Regions from separate parts of the Homo sapiens genome. Here all the other regions are linked to region 5. The links are contacts of gene promoters, found by promoter capture Hi-C in blood cells and fetal thymus (Javierre and others, 2016). All regions are on one chromosome and are shown on one strand. Each heading gives the region's core, a stretch centred on a gene start or on the middle of the fragment in contact. The rest is flanking DNA. Distances are from core to core; before and after follow the strand shown.

Region 1 (2,777 bases), core at 12-2,511, 1.5 Mb before region 5:
TCAGTAGTAGCCACATAATTTCATTTTTTCCATTATGGTTATTTTTCAGAGGCTGTTATGACATGTCATTGCAACATTTTTTAATCTCTGAAAAAGTTGTATTATTATAGTTTTTCACTCTTTTCCCTAAAAACACTTAACTATATAAATTATAAGTCTATAACACTAGGGAACAAAGAACTCTCATTTCTTTATTTGAACAACTTTAGTTTTACTTCAAGCCTTTTTTTGAAAGTTGGTAAGAAACTGTCTGTCTTTTGGGGCCCTGTTCCACAGAATCATAAAACTTGCAGGTTAAAATGGTATCATAAAGTCAAAAGAGGCTTTTGTCTATGTGTTTTAATTTTTCTATTTCCTAGCACAATGCACTGGTTTCCTGCTATCTTTTTCTCGCATACTGCTCCCTCTGATGATCTTAGAGGTGCCTCATACAAAGACTCCCTGCCCCTAATGGCAGACTTGACACCCACAACCATCCTTTGATCTGGAGTGCTGCATGCCAGCAATGCACTGGTCTTTTCCTCTGTTCCCCATCTTTTTCACAGACTCAGTTTGTCTATTTCCAACCACCCCATTCAACATACTTCTCTTCATACTATTTTTGTTTGGAATGATAAAGCATAATTCTATGAATTAGCCTTAAACAATGCTAACTTATCTTTTTTAGGAATAAAGTAGGGAAAAAAGATGTTAACAGTTTTGTGCCTTTTTCTCTTCTTAATAATATATTATTACATTTCCACTAAATTTCCTTATTAGGAAGCTATTTGGGCAGGTCCAGAAATGTAATCTTTACCATCACAGGATACGAATTTTCTCAGCATGTGGGCAGGACAAATTATTGGGATTTCTTCCCCAGTGAGCCACTTAACTGACAGGTAGAGAGGGAAGCTTCTAGGTTCTTGTCACAGTTCCACAGGACAGTGGCATCTGCAGGACACCAGACTCTTCCCCAGGCGTTTGCAGTAAACATGTCAAGATAACTGCTTCTGATATGCAGAGAGAGCCACTTGGCTCTCTCAAGCAGGGGAGGAGGTGGTACCAGAGAATACTTCCTGGTACCTACTTCCAGACCACTAGGAGGAGTCTTGATCAACCCTTGTCCTGTGAACCTGCAGAAGCAACTCCTAACAGTTCTCATTCTGCATCATTTCCTCCAGAAGGGTGTGTTTAGAGCTTGCCAAAAGGCTCCACTTGGTCTATACCTCCATATTAAGTGATTTATTCTGTTGAGTTACTGCAGGACTGTGTTGGGGGAGAACAGAAACCATAGTGTGCTCAGGCCACCACCCATCTCACCCAAAAAGAATGAATAGATATGCTTGTGAAAGAAGGGTATTAACACATACTCACAAACAATAATTCAGCAAACATGATTACTGAGAATATTCAAAAGCTGATAACAAAACTAGTTCCCAAGAAGCTACTCTGACACTGAAAAGCAAAGGATGGGAAGACTTCAGCTTACTTCTATCATACTGTGTTATTAGATAACTAATATATATGAATGTGAAAATAATAGTGAGTATTTTTCAGCTTGAACTATACTGAGCTGGGAGTCACACCTTAGTATTGGAAGGTTTCTTCATGGCATCTAATCTAACAGTTTGTGAGATATGAAAGAAGCTTTCAGTCCTTCGCTCCCCAAGGCTGAGGGAACTCAGCTGTCCAGAAACTGAAAGGAGCAACTGTGTTGTGCGAGCATAGTAAAGGTAAACACCTAAGATGAAAATAGTAAGATAAGCAAGAACCAGATCACATAGAGTTTGTAAAGGACTGAAGTGTGTGATCCTCCCAAGAACAATGGGAAATAATTGAAAGTGTTTTAAAGCAGAGGAATAACATGATTAAATAGCTTGAGAAGACTATTCCACAATAGCTATAGGTGGAAAACATGTTAGAAGAGGTCAAAATAAGTTATTAATGTTGGTGAAAAGGGATTATGTGGATTCAACTAATAACACAGATAGAAGTGGATAGATTCAAGAAGTAGTCAGTGGATAAAATCAACAGCATTTGGGCCGGATGTGGTGGCTCACGCCTGTAATCCCAGCACTTTGGGAGGCCGAGGCGGGTGGATCACCTGAGGTCAAGAGTTCGAGACCAGCCTGGCCAACACAGTGAAACCCCGTCTCTACCAAAAATACAAAAATTAGCCAGGCGTGGTAGCAGGTGCCTTAATCCCAGCTACTTGGGAGGCAGAGACAGGAGAATCGTTTGAACCCAGGAGGCGGAGGTTGCAGTGAGCCGAGATCGAGCCATTGCACTCAGGCCTGGGGGACAAGAGCGAGACTTCTCTCAAAAAAACAAAAAAAAAAACAAAAAAAAACAGCACTTGGTTGCAGGCTGGATTTGGTAACAGTGAGAGGGAGGAGTTAAGAAATATGCACAGACTTCAGATTTCAGCAGAGAGTGTGCAATTCACTGGGTTCTGAGAGAATCCAAACTGGAGATAAGAGACTGAGAATCACCAGCATTAACAAAGCCAAGTTAATGAGATTTCCTAGACAAACTAAATTTCTGTGGTTGGGCAGAGAAGAAGCCATCAAAGAAGGCCAAAAAGAAACAGCCTGAAAGTCAGTAGGAAAATCAGCAGTGTGTACAAGTGTCAAGAGGGAGCAGAGCTGAAAGGTGGTGAGAGGTCAATTAAAGACAAATACGTGCAATGGATTCAGCAATATCAAGTCAATGGGCACCTTAGTGAGTGCTATGTCAGTGGAGTAATAGGAGGAGAAGACACGCTGCAGGGGACTGAGGTGGGTCTAAGAAGTGGAAAA
Region 2 (2,706 bases), core at 51-2,550, 1.2 Mb before region 5:
GTAGTCTATGGACAATTCAGAATAAGAATTATCATTTGACTACTAGTCTAGCGTTTAATCACTTGCCTGTTAATATTAGTAACATCCAGAGTATCCACATTATGGTTGTGTATGCTATTAGGACATAAATATGAAGAGTAAACGAGGCTTTGAGACTATAATTGATGCCTTCAAGTCCCAGAATTGGATAGGTGTTCATTTCCCTCAGACTCTCTGTATATGCTATTTCCTCTCCCTGGGATACCATTCCCCCATTAAATGAGACTCTGGCAGGGGATGGGGGCAGGCAGGAATCTGTATTCTCCAATAAGTTCCCTAAGTGATTCTGATAATAAACAGGGTTCTGGAACTATTGGATGACACATGGTTTTCTTTTATTACCCCTGACCCCCAACACAGGGTTTTTGGGTCCTTAGCCCCTTCTCTACAATTCCTTTATCTTATTACTTACCATATTGCACCATGGTGACATCTAATGACCTATGCCTTTGAATTTTGTGAGGGCAGGGCCTCTATCGTAACCCCAGTTATTTGTTTTAATGCACAGTAAAGTGATTATGTCCTGGTTTGATCAGAATAGTCCTAGTTTATGCCAGTGTTCCCAGCACAAACTCCCTTCACTCCCACAGCCCCCTGGTTGTGATGATAAATTATGATTACCCTGGTTATGAGAATCTTTTGTCAAATCCTTCATAAGAGCTTAAAGATTTTTAGTCACTCATGAAATAATTCTACTGTTTTCCCTGAAGCAGGTATAATTAACAGACTGTGACTGTTGTTTATTATTTTTAATTTGCCTATTATTGTAACTTATTAAACCAAGGTTTGTGTGTCCCTTTCCCAGAAGATAAACAACACTAAAATGGAGAAATATAAATCTTGCTGAATCCTAGCATTTTTTTTTGTATGTTGTACTGGCTTGACTTTGATCTATTGAAAAATAAGAAAATAAAAGAGCCCTATCCATTAGTGCCTCAAATTAGGTAACAAATTTGTGATAGGATATAACCATTAAACTTTTACTAAATGTTGTAATAGGATTAGAACATAGACTCATCATGTCTGCCCAAGGAGACATAACATTAACCTAACCTAACCTAACAAAAATTAACATTGCCAAAATGCCTTGTGTCCCTGAAGCCCTTTACCTGGTTGTGACCACATGGCTTGACTAAGATTTTAAGCAAATCTCTCTCATTGTTTTTATAACCAGTTGAGCTCTTCTAGGTTGGGGACCCAGAGAACTCTGGCAGTAAGCAGTCCTACCTATAGCAGAGGGCAAGCAAACATTTGAGTATTTTTTTGGCATTGTGTCGGAGAGGATATAAAGGGATGGTATACCTGTTTCCGGCTCTTAGAGTCTGAAGTGTCCATCTAATTGTGACTAAAGACGAAAGTGATTTCTAACATTGGCAGATTATAAAACAAATGATATATAGTAGAAAATGTAATACAGAGTTATCAAATGAATGAATGAAGAGTCACCACCAATGTATGACTTTATATATTCTGTCTGGGTAAAAAAATAAAAGTGTAAAGTATAAAAACAGCAACAACAAAAAACCACCCCTCTCTCGCATTTTTGTCCTGAAAGCCTTAGTACATTCATGGGTATAGAATAAAAGAATGGAAAGAAATTTGGTAATTTTGATATTCAGTCAACCTAATTATGGTGAACAGATGTTCTAAAACCTATTTGTAGGTTTAAGCAAAATTAACATGATATTCTATGAGAGCATTTTATTTCATAGAATGATTATGCTTGATGAAAAAGGGTTGTCTTTTTTTCTTCTTAGCTTTCACACTAAATAGAAACTGAAAGTGATAATAGAAGTTGAAAAAAATTAAACAAAGGATCTCATATTTAGTGTTAAGAAAATCAAAATTATTGAAAAGTTGGTTACAAACCAAGCCTCATTATCTATTTTCATTTTCAAGGTGCGGTCAGTTGCCCTACAGAGATAATATGTTACTTGGCATGCTAGTGATATGTATAAATTAATATAGCTTCCCAACGTGCTCAACTTCTTCAATATATTACCTTGAAACATCTGGATAGAAACTTGGTCTTTTAATCTACATGACAATAAGTACTAAATTTGTAGGATGAGGAAAAAAACCTAGATGTGTAGGTTTATTTGGTTTCTGTTACTAAATTTTGGTATGATTTGGCAAGACACTTAACTTTTTTGAGCTTCAATTGCTGAGCCTATAAATGTAAGGGGTTGGTATAGGTGATGTTTGACATTGTAAAAAATTCAAACTAGCAGATAGGAAGACAGCTGTAGGACTAAATTGGCTGATTATACTAGCATGGACTCACTACAATCACATAGAAATGTTTGAAAAACTACAATAAAAAATTAAATCCATAGCAAAGCTAAAAACAAATAAATATAATTCCCAAGGAAATGAATAGGGAAAAGATAGTTGGAATGAAAAGTGCAGGAGCTGTCTCTCTGGCTACCCATGTGGTTGGAGGACCCAAATACAGGCTTTGGAAATGAGAGGCTACAATTTTATCACACCCTCCTGGACAGAAGATGTGTTGTTAGAACCTCACAAAGCTGGGGCCTAACCCTTAGATCTCTCCATAAAACAAGGACTTAGAAATATCAGTCTCTCTTGGAAAAGGGAGAAGAAAAGCTGCCCAGTATTTCAATAAAGCTGCAAGAAAGCTTTTATCTGGTTCGGGATCTGTATAGA
Region 3 (2,700 bases), core at 39-2,538, 1.4 Mb before region 5:
GAGACCAGCCTGGCCAACACAGAGAAACCCCGTCTCTTTTTGAAAATACAAAAAATAGGGCATAGTGGCGCATGTCTGTAATCCCAGCTACATGGGAGGCTGAGGCATGAGAATAGCTCGAGCCCCAAAGGCGGAGGTTGCAGTAAGCCGAGATCACACCGCTGCACTCTAGCCTGGGTGACAGAGCGAGACTTCGTCTCGAAAAAAAAAAAAAAAAGAAAAAAAAAAGCTAATAGCCGGTAAGTCCAAAATCTGAAACTTCTATTTGAATGTAAACATTATCTTTAACAATGTATTAAGTATTATAAGCATTAACAGTCAAAACAGCCCACTTAAATACAAAAAAGCTAACTATAAAAAAATTAATATCTACATTATTTCATAATAATCAAGACAGACTTTGGATCACATTAGTCTGGATTCCTGAAATAAATAAAATATTACTGCTTTTTAAACATATATAAATAGATTAAAATAGGCAACGCAACCTTATGTTCAGAATAAATGCAAAACTACAAATCTCATCCTTTTAAATTAGTAGTTTTATCACAGTTGCAATACTAAAAGATAAGTCCACATATGGAACCACAAATTATTACTAATAATCCTTCCCTTTTTAGCACTATCAAGTTTATATGCATTTATTTGTAAGTGGTGAACACAAGGACAAAATAAAATTCCTGAAATGAAGCTTTATTTTAAAACATTTCTTATAGAAAAGGAATCTACTGTTTATCTCTGGGGATTTTTAAAAACAGAAAATGTTATTACAAAGATTATTTACAGAAAACAGGACCAGAAGTACATTACCCTTCAATACACTGTACCAAAGTCTCCTAATAGGGACCAGGGAGATAATAAAAACACTAGCTTATTAAATGTCTTCCTCCCTTCATTTTAAAATGTAGACAGATTCTATTAAACTGACAATATAAAAGCTTAACCCAATAATTTTAGCTGTACAAAGTTACTTATTAACCTTTAAAGGCTGTTATGAATTTACACTTCCTGCAGTTCACCTGCCATCTTTCCCAACTGAAATAGCCACTAGGGGTTTAAGACAGTCACCACTTGCGACATCAATAATAAGGAAATAACTTTGCATTCAAGTTTAAGAAAAGGATAATTGCGGATTTTGCCTGTGCCCATAAACAGGTGCTTAATGAATATCTGTTGAGTAAATGGTGACATTTTATTATATTAGTGCAACATTAGCTTTTCCCCCCCTAAATTTAGAGTTCTCCCTTGCTCAAAAAGCAGCAAGACCATACCACAGTCCCTTCTCAAAAACACATAAACTCCTTTATTCATAATGAAACAGAAAGCTGGGTTTCAAAATACAATCCCACTCCCTCTTTATCTTCTCCATTATTTTTAAAGATTAGAAATAAGGCCTGTTTTTAAGAAACAGAAAATGTATACCAACTTCTCTCAAACCAAAAGAGAAAATCCAAATTTGATATATATTTTCTATGTTCATAATATTGAGAGTAAGAACGGACTGTTCATCAACAGTATGTTATGTGGGACAAAAACTAAAAAACGTATATCAAAAATACATACTGTTTGCCGACATTCTTTCCTTAATCATAATCAAGGAGTATGTGCCTAAATTTTACTAGATGTGAGATAAGCTTTGTCTGATATTTCAAGATTCATTCATTCAACAAATACTTTACTGAGCACGTACTATAAGCCAGGCCCTTCAACGAAACATTTAGATTTTGTAAACTGCACATCACCCCCCAAAATTCCCCTAAAAAAGCTTATCATTTAAAATAATTGCAAGCTAAAGAGGAATCCCCAATGTTGTTTCTTACACATAGTGAAGTCAGCGGATCGGGGCGCTTTTTCAGCTGTTAATGCGGCATCAAGGAGCCGCTACCTACCACACCCGTTGCCTAAAATCGCAACTTAAAGCTGCAAGCACTGGGTAAAACAACCTGTAAGAGTAGCTCAGCTCCCGCGACGAGGTAGCCAAGGGCTTTCAAGCCCGGGGCCCGGGGCGAACCGCGGCAGGACCCGCGGACTGAACGCGTCGGGCGCCTCAGGCGAAGAGTCGGAGCTCCGGAGCCAGGTGTCTTTGCTCCCCGAAACCCTCACCTAGAGACCCCGGGCCCTCCCCGCCCGCCCCTCGCACCACCCTCCCGACTTCCAGACGTGAAAAGTTGGGGGGAGGGGGGGGGTCTGCCTTTCCATTTTACATCAGGCGGTCAGTTGGCTGCCTCAGCTGTCCGCCTGCCGTGAATTCTGAACTGAGCGTGTAACCATTCCTCAGAGGAAACAGAAGAAAAACCAAAGGCAGGGTCCTAGGGCATGAGGACCTCGCCCAAACCTGAAATGGAAGACGCAGGCTCAGCCCACAGCCCGCAGCGCGCGGCTGGCAAGGCCGGGCCGCGCTCACCCCAGAGCCCTCAGGGACGAGGGTTCGGGGCTTCGGGACCCCGCCCAAGGGACCGAGAGGGCGAGGCGTGGCGGCCGACGCGCGACTGGGGCTGGCATTGCACTCACCGTCGCCTTTGTCTCAGCCGCCCGCTCCGGCCGCAGCCCCTCTCAGCGCCGGCTCCGCGGCTCCTGCCGCCCCAACGCCTGCAGCTGCGCTCCCCAGCGCGCTCGCAGCTTCCTGGCTCCCCCTCCCCGCCCAGGCTCGCGCGCGGGTTGGGCGGAGCGAGAGGCGGCGCGCGCCCCTAGAGCGGCCGG
Region 4 (2,746 bases), core at 128-2,627, 1.3 Mb before region 5:
GTTAGAAACCTAACTTGTAGGGCCCCACCCCAGATCAACTGATTTTGACAATTTTTCTGTGGTTATGAAAGGAAATTAACATGACTTCAAAACTATTATCTAATTTATAGGCATTATTTAGATTTTACGAATTGTCCCAGTAATGTCTTTGATAGCAAAAGTACCAAATGGACACTTTTGAGATTAAAGGCAACCACATTCAATAATTTTGCCAAGACAAGGGTAGTAATGTAATCATAAAAGGCAGCTGAGCTCACATCTGTAATCCCAGCACTTTGGGAGGCTGAGGCGGGTGGAACACCTGAGGTCAGAAGTTTGAGAACAGCCTGGCCAGCATGGGGAAACCCTGTCTCTACTAAAAATACAAAAATTAGCCAGGTGTGGTGGTGCGCGCCTGTAGTCCTAGCTACTTGGGAGGCTGAGGCATGAGAATCACTCGAACTCGGGAGGCAGAGGTTGCAATGAGCCGAGATTGTGCCACTGCAGTCGAGCCTGGGCGACAGAGCAAGAATCTATCTAAAAAAAAAAAAGGCATTGAGGAGGTATACTTTTTCTTAATACGTACACTTAGAGGTCTGGTATGATAACTGTAATTGTCTATAGGATTTTATAAATGGATGTCCTTAGTGACCTTGACAAGAGGGAAATGGACTCAAAAATGAAAGATAAGAAAGCAGACATGGTATGTAGAAAACTTCTTTATAAAACGAGCAAAGATACGGAGGGGGATGTGGGATTAAGGAAGGTTTTTTTTTTTAAAGTGGGTCATTTTATTAATACATTATGTTGATTGCTGCTGGGAAAAATTCTTTGCAGAGCAGTCTAGGGAGGTTTACAAACTACTGATGCCTGGGGCTCATCTCCAAAGATTCTTATTTAATGGATCTGGGCTGCAGCCAGGTTCACGGGGATTTTTAAAAGCTCCCCAAGTGATCTTAATGTGTAGTCAAGATTGAGAACCACTGGTAGAGAGAGAAAAAAACTCTGTTGAAGAGAGGACTTAAAATCTGCTGCAGCAGCAAGACCTTAAATAATCTAAGTGCTAAGTTGCAGCCAGCACCACTTAAATTATCAAATCTTGTCAGTTACAGTATCCAACTTTCCCTACAAGCATCCATAGGCAGACGAAGGGTTTATACCAGTAACTGCATTCCCCAGGAGACAAGAAAGGAGGATAGAAAAACGACTTAGGAATCTCCTTGGAGCTCAAGACCAGGAACTTCCCCAAGCCGGAGGTCCCTGAGGCGCTCTAGCGCGCTGGCCGCACTCGCAGCCCAGGTCGCCAGTGCGCACGCGCAAGATTAGGTGGGGCGCCAGAGCCGGGGCACCTGCGCAGGCTTGGCTGCGCCCTCTCGCGCCGCACGCTCTGCGGGTTCCTCCCTTCTTCCGAGCCTCTCCTCTGGCCGCCGCGCGGGAGAGAGGCCGAGATGGCAGATGAGATTGCCAAGGCTCAGGTCGCTCGGCCTGGTGGCGACACGATCTTTGGGAAGATCATCCGCAAGGAAATACCAGCCAAAATCATTTTTGAGGATGACCGGGTAGGTACTGGGCACCACCTCTCTCGCCTGCTGAGGTGGGTATCGTCCGCGGATCCTCGGGTTTCTCGCGGAGGGAGAGGAGGGGTCGCGAGTGTAGCGGCGACGGGAGGGGACCTGGCTGCCCTGGTCCAGCGGGCCCCCAGCCAGCGGACAGGGCCCGGGCACTCCGAGGCGGCCTGCCGGCGCGTGCCGGCGCTCCGGTTACTCGTTATCTGCCCCGGGCGCGGGCCAGGCCGCCGGGCGCCCTGAGTGCCGCACCGCGGGGCCTGGGCGCGTGTCGGGGCGCACTGGGGCCCCCGCGTGGAAGCCCGCCGGTTCCCCGGCTGCCTCGGACCTTGCCTGTATCAGGAATCTCGAAATCTCGCCAGCGCTCTGCCTGACAGAGAGAAACCCGATCGCGCCCTGACTCAGGCCCAATCTCCGCGATCTCCCGCGCACAGCCGGCCTGCCAGGGCCCGGCGTTCCTGGGCGCTGCTCAGCAAGGCATTGTGCTCGAGGGCCCCAGGGGCGCTGGGAGGTGCGCGGGCCGTCTGGGCCTGCCGGCTTCCTCCGCGGGGTGCGGCTTGCCACCCTCACCCCTACCCCTATCCCTATCTCCACCCCAAGGCCTACCCTGGGCTAGCGAGGCGATCTCCTGAGATAAGAAGTGGGCCCGCGTCTGGGATTTGCTTTCCGTTGACCTCTCCCGCTGAACATTTTGGACTTACAAACAGCTGAATGATTCTTTTTGTATTCAACAGGAAGTAATTTTATGCCAAGAGACTAAGACTGTAGTTTTTGTTGACTTCTTGTAGGTGAAATCCCAGTTGATGTGACTTTGAGATATCTTGTGTAAATTATTTAGTGGCCAGTTGTATTTTTGGGATTGGATCTCAGATAAAGCTGGGCAGATTGGCTGATTTAGATAGAACAAATTTTGTAAACAGTTTTGTTAAATTTAGGAAATATAAAATCTAAGAAAAACATTTATTCTACTAATGTCGGTTAGATTCAAAACGTTATCAAAAATTTAATTAGGTTCCTCTAGGTAAATTAAAAAAAAAAATACTTTGTCTCTACTCAGGGGAAATTCTTTGGTTTTAGAAAAAATATTTCTTTTTAAAGTTCGCAGTTGCCTTTGAGAAATGGTTCTTGAAAAATTTACATTTGAACCACCGAAGTCCAACTGTAGAACGGCAGGAAGCATTCTAAATGAATCAGCATTTTGT
Region 5 (2,700 bases), core at 35-2,534:
AGCCCGAAGCACGTGCTGGCAGAGAAGCAGCGGAGGGGCTGGGCAGGGGCTAGGACCGGTTACAGAGAAAGGAGTCGGGGAGACTGGCAGGCTGGAAAGCCGGCGCAGGGAGGTCACCTTTGATGTAGACATCGTCGTCGGCGCGCATGAACCACTCATACTTGTCCAGGTAGTGGTCGTGCATGTACTTGATCATCATGAAGGACTTTTTCTGGGGAGGATAGGAGTCGTCCACACCCGGTAGCGCGATGACAGGCAGGGGTGGCGGGGGCTGGCCGGCGTTGGGGGGCTGCTGGCTGGAAAAGAACTCCACGCGGCCCGGGATGAAACGCGCCCAGGTCCGCTGCGCGGCCAGCGCGCGGCTGCCCAGGTACTTCTGCGCGGTCATCACCCCCACGTACAGGAAGTCCCGGGGTCGGGCGCTCGGGGCGGCAGCGCCCCCGTCCCCGCTGCCGTTGTGGCTACTCCCCGGCCGGCCGTCTCTCCGCTGCCCAGCCGCGCCCCCGTCCTCCTCCTCGGGCTCCCCCTCGGCCGCTGGAGCACCGGGAAGCCCCGTCGCGCCCTCAGGCTCGCGTCCTCGCCGCCGCTGCTGCAGCGGAGGTGGCTGCTGCCAGGGGCTGCTTCGAAAACTGGTGATCCCGGGTGCTGCCTCGGGCAGCGGTGGCCCCTGGAGATCCTGGCGCGCGGGGGGCGGCGACTGCTCCTGCCGTGGTCGGGACTGGGGCTGGGGGAGCGGCTGCTGAGCGCCGGCGCGGGGGCCAGCAGCAGAGCGACCGTAGTAGGAGCAGAGGCTGGAGCCACGTCTCTTCCTCTCGCTCAGCTCCGCCACCCTGGGGGCGATGAGCCAGGACGCGGCGGTGAAGCCCAGCACCAGCCCTAATGCCACGCTCATCCACGGGCGGCGAGAGCGCACAGCCATCGCGGCTGTCCCGGGCGCGGACGCTCGCTGGGCTGTCGCGGCGCGGCACGCGGTTTCCCCGGCTCACACCCGCCCCTCCTCCGCCTTTGCGCCCCCAGCCGCGGCCGCAGCCGGCCGCCTAGGCGCCGACACCGGCTGGAGGTCGAAGCGCCGCGGACGCCTCGACTGCCGCGGGCTGCAGCTGCCTGCCGGGCTCCCGCTCAGCTCTGGGCCGGGGCTCCGAGCAAGGGTCGGGAGTGAAACTTCTCCCGGCGGCGGCGGTGGCGGCAGCGGCGGCAGCAGCGGCAGCTGGAGGAGCTGCAGGAGGAGGAGGAGGAGCAGCGGCGGCGGCAACGCGTCCGCTCCTAGGCTGCCACCCTGTCAGTGGCGCGCCTGGGCCCTCCCTCCTCCCTCCTTCCCGAGCCCCCGCCCTCACTCCCGCCTCCCGCTCCCCCCGCCGCCGGGCTCCGAGCTGGCCCGGAGGAGGAGCCGCAGGCGGCACCGCTGCCAGCCGGAGAGAAGCGCGGGCCGCGGTATTTCCCCGTCACCCGCCCTTGGACGCCCCCCGTCCGCGCCTCAGTCCAGAGCCGGCCTCCTCTCCGGAAGGAAACGATCCCTGTCGGGCCGCCTCCGGCTTGCAGCGCCGACGCCCCCTCTTCCCTCCTCCCCCAGCTCTTGCTCTTCGTCCCATTTCCCGTCCCGTCCCGCCCCTCCGCTGGCCTCCCGACACTCGTGTCTGGGGGCTCTACTGGCCTCCTCCCGGCGCCTAGGCTCCGCTGACCTCATCGGCGGAGCTCGGGTCCGGGAGCCCCCAGCAAGTTCGTTGCTGTCCCACCGTGCTCTCCTCCCCCGGCCCACAGCCGGGTACGTCCTGGCGTGACCCTTACCACTCTGCCCCGCCCCAGGTCCGCCAGGGCGCCACTCTTCGCGTTTTCCGTCCTTTCCACGTTGTTCTTACCGCTGCCACTCCGCGCCTTCTCTCTCTAGTCGGTCACTTGTCAGGAAACCAAACGTCCCATCCCAGCACCTCTCCTCCCAGCCTAACTTCCCTCCTACCTGCATCGTCCACCAGCTCTCCTCAGTCCTTCACAGAAGCACCATTGTCGTTAGGGTCTCTCCTAAGAAAATCTCTGAGGGATTGGAAATACTTATCCTGAAAGGCTAAGGGAGTTGGTGGTGTGTGGGGGTTCAATCCCCAAAGAACGTAAAAATCCCATGTCCTCCACCTGTTGAGTTGGAAAATGTGGGGCTGCCTAATGGTCTCCCCCTCGGCTCTCCTGATGATATCTGTTCAAGAAATGAGAACTATGGTCTATTTTCAGTCTTGGTAGAAGATTGGCTCAGTGGGACTGGCAAATAGTGGAGAAATGGGCACACATTCACAGGGCCAATACCCTGAAGATCCAAACGAAAGAAATTCTTACCCCCACAAAATAAGTGAACTTAATCAAAAAATAAAATGGAGGATATGATTTTTATTCTTGCCTATGAACCGTTTTATTTTCTAAGGCAAAGACAGGAAAATTTTACCTCTCCAATGAGGGAGGAAAATTGTCCAGCAACAGAATCTCAAAAAAAGTTAAGCTGTATTGGCCAAAATCATTGTGCCTTAGTTACGTTAGGAAGAAATTACCTGAAGGTATATGATTTTTGAAGAAGGGAGCATTAACAAATTTCTCTCTAAAGGTTGTGCATAAAGCTATAGTCTGGGGTGCATTTGGCATCCCAAGTACTTCCTTCTCTTCAAATTTCAGTCTTCTGTTTTAGACATCAAACGCAAAGGGATGGTATTGAATGGCATT
Region 6 (2,750 bases), core at 115-2,614, 1.5 Mb before region 5:
TGTATAGTAGGTGTATTTATAAAACACAGATTTTGATCCTGTTGTAGCTCATATGTAATTTTGTGTGGCACACAGACCTATGTCATCACTTTCCTTGTCTGTATGGTCCTATCCAATGCGCCCCTTACCAGATCTTGCGATGTAGGATAAGCCGCAGTGCCTCCAGTCAGACAGATGGTCCAAATGAACAGTATCCATATGCTCCTAATGCTCGTTCAGGAACACCTTTACACTCCTTACCCCTGTTAGAGGCTGCTCAGTGGTCCATCCCATTATAGCTGATTTGGTATTTTATGCCTGAATGTGACTTCTGGAAAGTGGTATTAGAAACAGGAATTCCTCCATTGCTCTTATTCCCAACAAAATCTACACTCAACACTCGAATAGAGAAGTATTTTCTCCCTTTGTGAGAAAATTGTAGCCAACAATTGAACACCATGTTTATAGGTTTGTGAGCTTCTCGTAGTAATGTTTAGAATTCTTAGAAGCCTGAAGAAATTCTTCTCTTCAAAACTGTTTCAGCTTGTTCTTGCATGTGTACTATCAAAACCCCAACCAAGTATGATCCTTCTATTTTTGTAGACAGGTTTTTGCCAGTAACCTATGATTGAACAAAACTGTCATTATGCTCAGAGTAAATTATTAGGATCTGTTCCTGGTTCTTATTAAACTTGGAGATCTGTTCTTTGTTTTCTTATGATTAAGAAAATAAACCTGTCTTCATGTTTTGCATGAGGATAGTTTAAACAAGAACTTTAAAAAAGAAGTCAAAAGACCTTAAACATTATCTACCCTAGTGTTTAAGAAAAGCACTCTCCACCTTGGATCTACAACAGGATCAGAAAATGAACGTTATAAATATACCTATTGTATGTACTATTTATATGTCTTATTTGGTTTTTACTAAGCTTCTTCATAGTAAAATCTACCTTACAATTCTAGACCTACATAGTTACTTTACAGAAATAATTCTAGTTACCTGATATTTTTGTCATATTTTTCCTTATGATTTTACCAGCTTGGCTTCCTTTCAACAGTTTTTTTGTTTTTGTTTTTGTTTTTATTTTTATCACCAGCTTGTGCTGATAAAGGTAATCTTTCTCCTGCATTCTGTCTTGCAATAACTGATGTGTATATGTTTTATATATAAGTAGATTTTTTTCCATGCATTAAAAAATATGTTGCTAGATTTCAATTTTTCAGATATTATCAAGATGTTAGAATTTTTAAATAGTGAAATATTATGTAAACAAGGCTAATTGTGATTGACCATGTCAGGGTTTTTGCATCTCTCCCTCCAGTTGGCAGTATCATATCTGATCACAGCAGCAAGATCAGTGGCCAGAGCTGCCCCGGAATAGGTGGGGCTTACTTGCAAAAGAAAATCCTTCAGATTACCAGGAGCACAGCCAAAAGAACAGACAGTACTGAGAAGGCCACTGAGGAGAATAGAGACAGGACAAGTTGTGAGAACACAACCAGAAAAAGAATGACATCCCCGTTTAGAAGACTTAGGGAAAGAATGCTTTCAAGGGAGAGACTAGTCAACAGCCAAAAAGAGGACACAGATCACAATCAAGCTACAGAAAGCTGTGAGAAAGTGAAGGATGTTGGAAGCAACATCAAAGATGAGAAAGGGAGTGCCATCTTCAATTCAAATAGCCAAGGCAACAGTAACACTTTAAACTGCTTCTATACGCGATTCAAGTCTAAAAGGAGGAAGACACTCTGATGAAGTTCCTTATTTAATTTTAGTGTTAAGTTTGTTTTCAGTTATTAATGTATACATGGCTTAAATTAAACCATTTGTCAAAGCTTAGGCAGACAACTTAGTAAAATACTATTTATAAACACTTGAAAATGCCTCATTTGTACATAAGTTATTTTACTGATGTATTGAGTTAGTAAATTTTATACTCTTGTTTTCTGTAGTTGACTTTATTTCCTACTGTTAGCTGGATCTGTGAGTGAAATATGTAGAGGAGGCTTTTTTATCTTCTACTTTTTACGTATCTTTGATTGGGGGAGAAGGGACTAGTCTAACATAGCAATATCAGAATCATCTGGGAAACTTGTTAAAAAATGCAATTACTGTGTCCCACCCCAGACTTCATAAACTTGAATTGCCAGAAATGGGATCTGGAATGTTTATTTTAATTGGCTTGCCAGGTGGTTCTTAGTATTATTATATTTGAGAAATACTGATCAAATAGACATAAGAATGAAATTATTTTTTAAACAATGAAGCAAGATTATTGTGTAGAGCAATGACTTTTTCTTTTCAAGAAGAAGGTTTTTATTTATTTTTAATTTACTTATTACATCCACTTTCTTGGTCCTCTTAAAAATTGACTAATCAGCTCATGGACATTGACAAATAGCAGTGATCCCAAGTTCAGAGATGTATGATAGACGTCAGAAGACTGGCTTGTCTTGGCTTACCCTGTTCCTGTCCACGTAGGCCAAATATAAATCACACATTTTCTAGGCCTTTTTCTCTTTGAAATAGTTAACGAAACGACTTAATAAGATTACTGTGCAACAAATTATTCCTTAAATGACTTGAGTTATATGTGAATAACTCCAAGATCCATAAACAGAGAAAGACTTGGAACTAAGGATGTTGTCATCCTCTTTCTGCATGAAGATGAGGCCCTGAGAATTCCAGTAACATACCCAAAGCCTGTAATTCTTCCTAATGACATTTCTAGGTATTGGTCCAAAGGTCACATATCTACTAAACCCTACTT

Evidence for each region. The method cuts DNA at HindIII sites, captures the fragments that hold promoters and counts their contacts. A CHiCAGO score of 5 or more calls a contact.
Region 1: a contact is called between a fragment that was not itself captured here and the fragment with the promoter of CHSY3 in region 5, in 2 of 17 cell types (erythroblasts and megakaryocytes). The highest score is 7.5, in erythroblasts.
Region 2: a fragment that was not itself captured here is called in contact with the fragment with the promoter of CHSY3 in region 5 in 1 of 17 cell types (erythroblasts); the score reaches 5.0 in erythroblasts.
Region 3: a contact is called between a fragment that was not itself captured here and the fragment with the promoter of CHSY3 in region 5, in 1 of 17 cell types (erythroblasts). The highest score is 9.0, in erythroblasts.
Region 4: a contact is called between the fragment with the promoter of HINT1 here and the fragment with the promoter of CHSY3 in region 5, in 2 of 17 cell types (megakaryocytes and erythroblasts). The highest score is 6.8, in megakaryocytes.
Region 6: a contact is called between a fragment that was not itself captured here and the fragment with the promoter of CHSY3 in region 5, in 1 of 17 cell types (megakaryocytes). The highest score is 5.9, in megakaryocytes.

The regions. Positions count from the first base shown.
Region 1 is chr5:131,380,865-131,383,641 of GRCh38, reverse strand. The region is part of intron 3 of CDC42SE2 (CDC42 small effector 2); the gene reads right to left. Among named protein-coding and RNA genes, the nearest start is that of CDC42SE2, 120 kb to the right of the region's middle. The HindIII fragment of the contact is 735 bases long and covers 894-1,628 here.
Region 2 is chr5:131,076,550-131,079,255 of GRCh38, reverse strand. No RefSeq gene overlaps it. Among named protein-coding and RNA genes, the nearest start is that of HINT1, 87 kb to the left of the region's middle. The HindIII fragment of the contact is 2,760 bases long and covers 1-2,680 here.
Region 3 is chr5:131,263,978-131,266,677 of GRCh38, reverse strand. It overlaps CDC42SE2 (CDC42 small effector 2), which reads right to left and starts at 2,625. Exons shown (of 5, transcript NM_001375635.1): 1 at 2,512-2,625. RefSeq lists an enhancer at 1,346-2,163 and a silencer at 2,362-2,700. The HindIII fragment of the contact is 696 bases long and covers 941-1,636 here.
Region 4 is chr5:131,163,887-131,166,632 of GRCh38, reverse strand. HINT1 (histidine triad nucleotide binding protein 1) reads left to right here and starts at 1,377. Exons shown (of 3, transcript NM_005340.7): 1 at 1,377-1,538. The coding sequence starts at 1,428. RefSeq lists enhancers at 1,008-1,057, 1,328-1,987, 1,988-2,648 and silencers at 1,208-1,257, 1,268-1,347, 1,558-2,197. The HindIII fragment of the contact is 11,885 bases long and covers 1-2,746 here.
Region 5 is chr5:129,903,049-129,905,748 of GRCh38, reverse strand. CHSY3 (chondroitin sulfate synthase 3) reads right to left here and starts at 1,284. Exons shown (of 3, transcript NM_175856.5): 1 at 118-1,284. The coding sequence starts at 919. All of the region lies in intron 1 of CHSY3-AS1 (CHSY3 antisense RNA 1), which reads left to right. RefSeq lists a silencer at 917-1,126. The HindIII fragment of the contact is 4,826 bases long and covers 1-2,700 here.
Region 6 is chr5:131,434,933-131,437,682 of GRCh38, reverse strand. All of the region lies in intron 24 of RAPGEF6 (Rap guanine nucleotide exchange factor 6), which reads left to right. Among named protein-coding and RNA genes, the nearest start is that of CDC42SE2, 170 kb to the right of the region's middle. The HindIII fragment of the contact is 907 bases long and covers 911-1,817 here.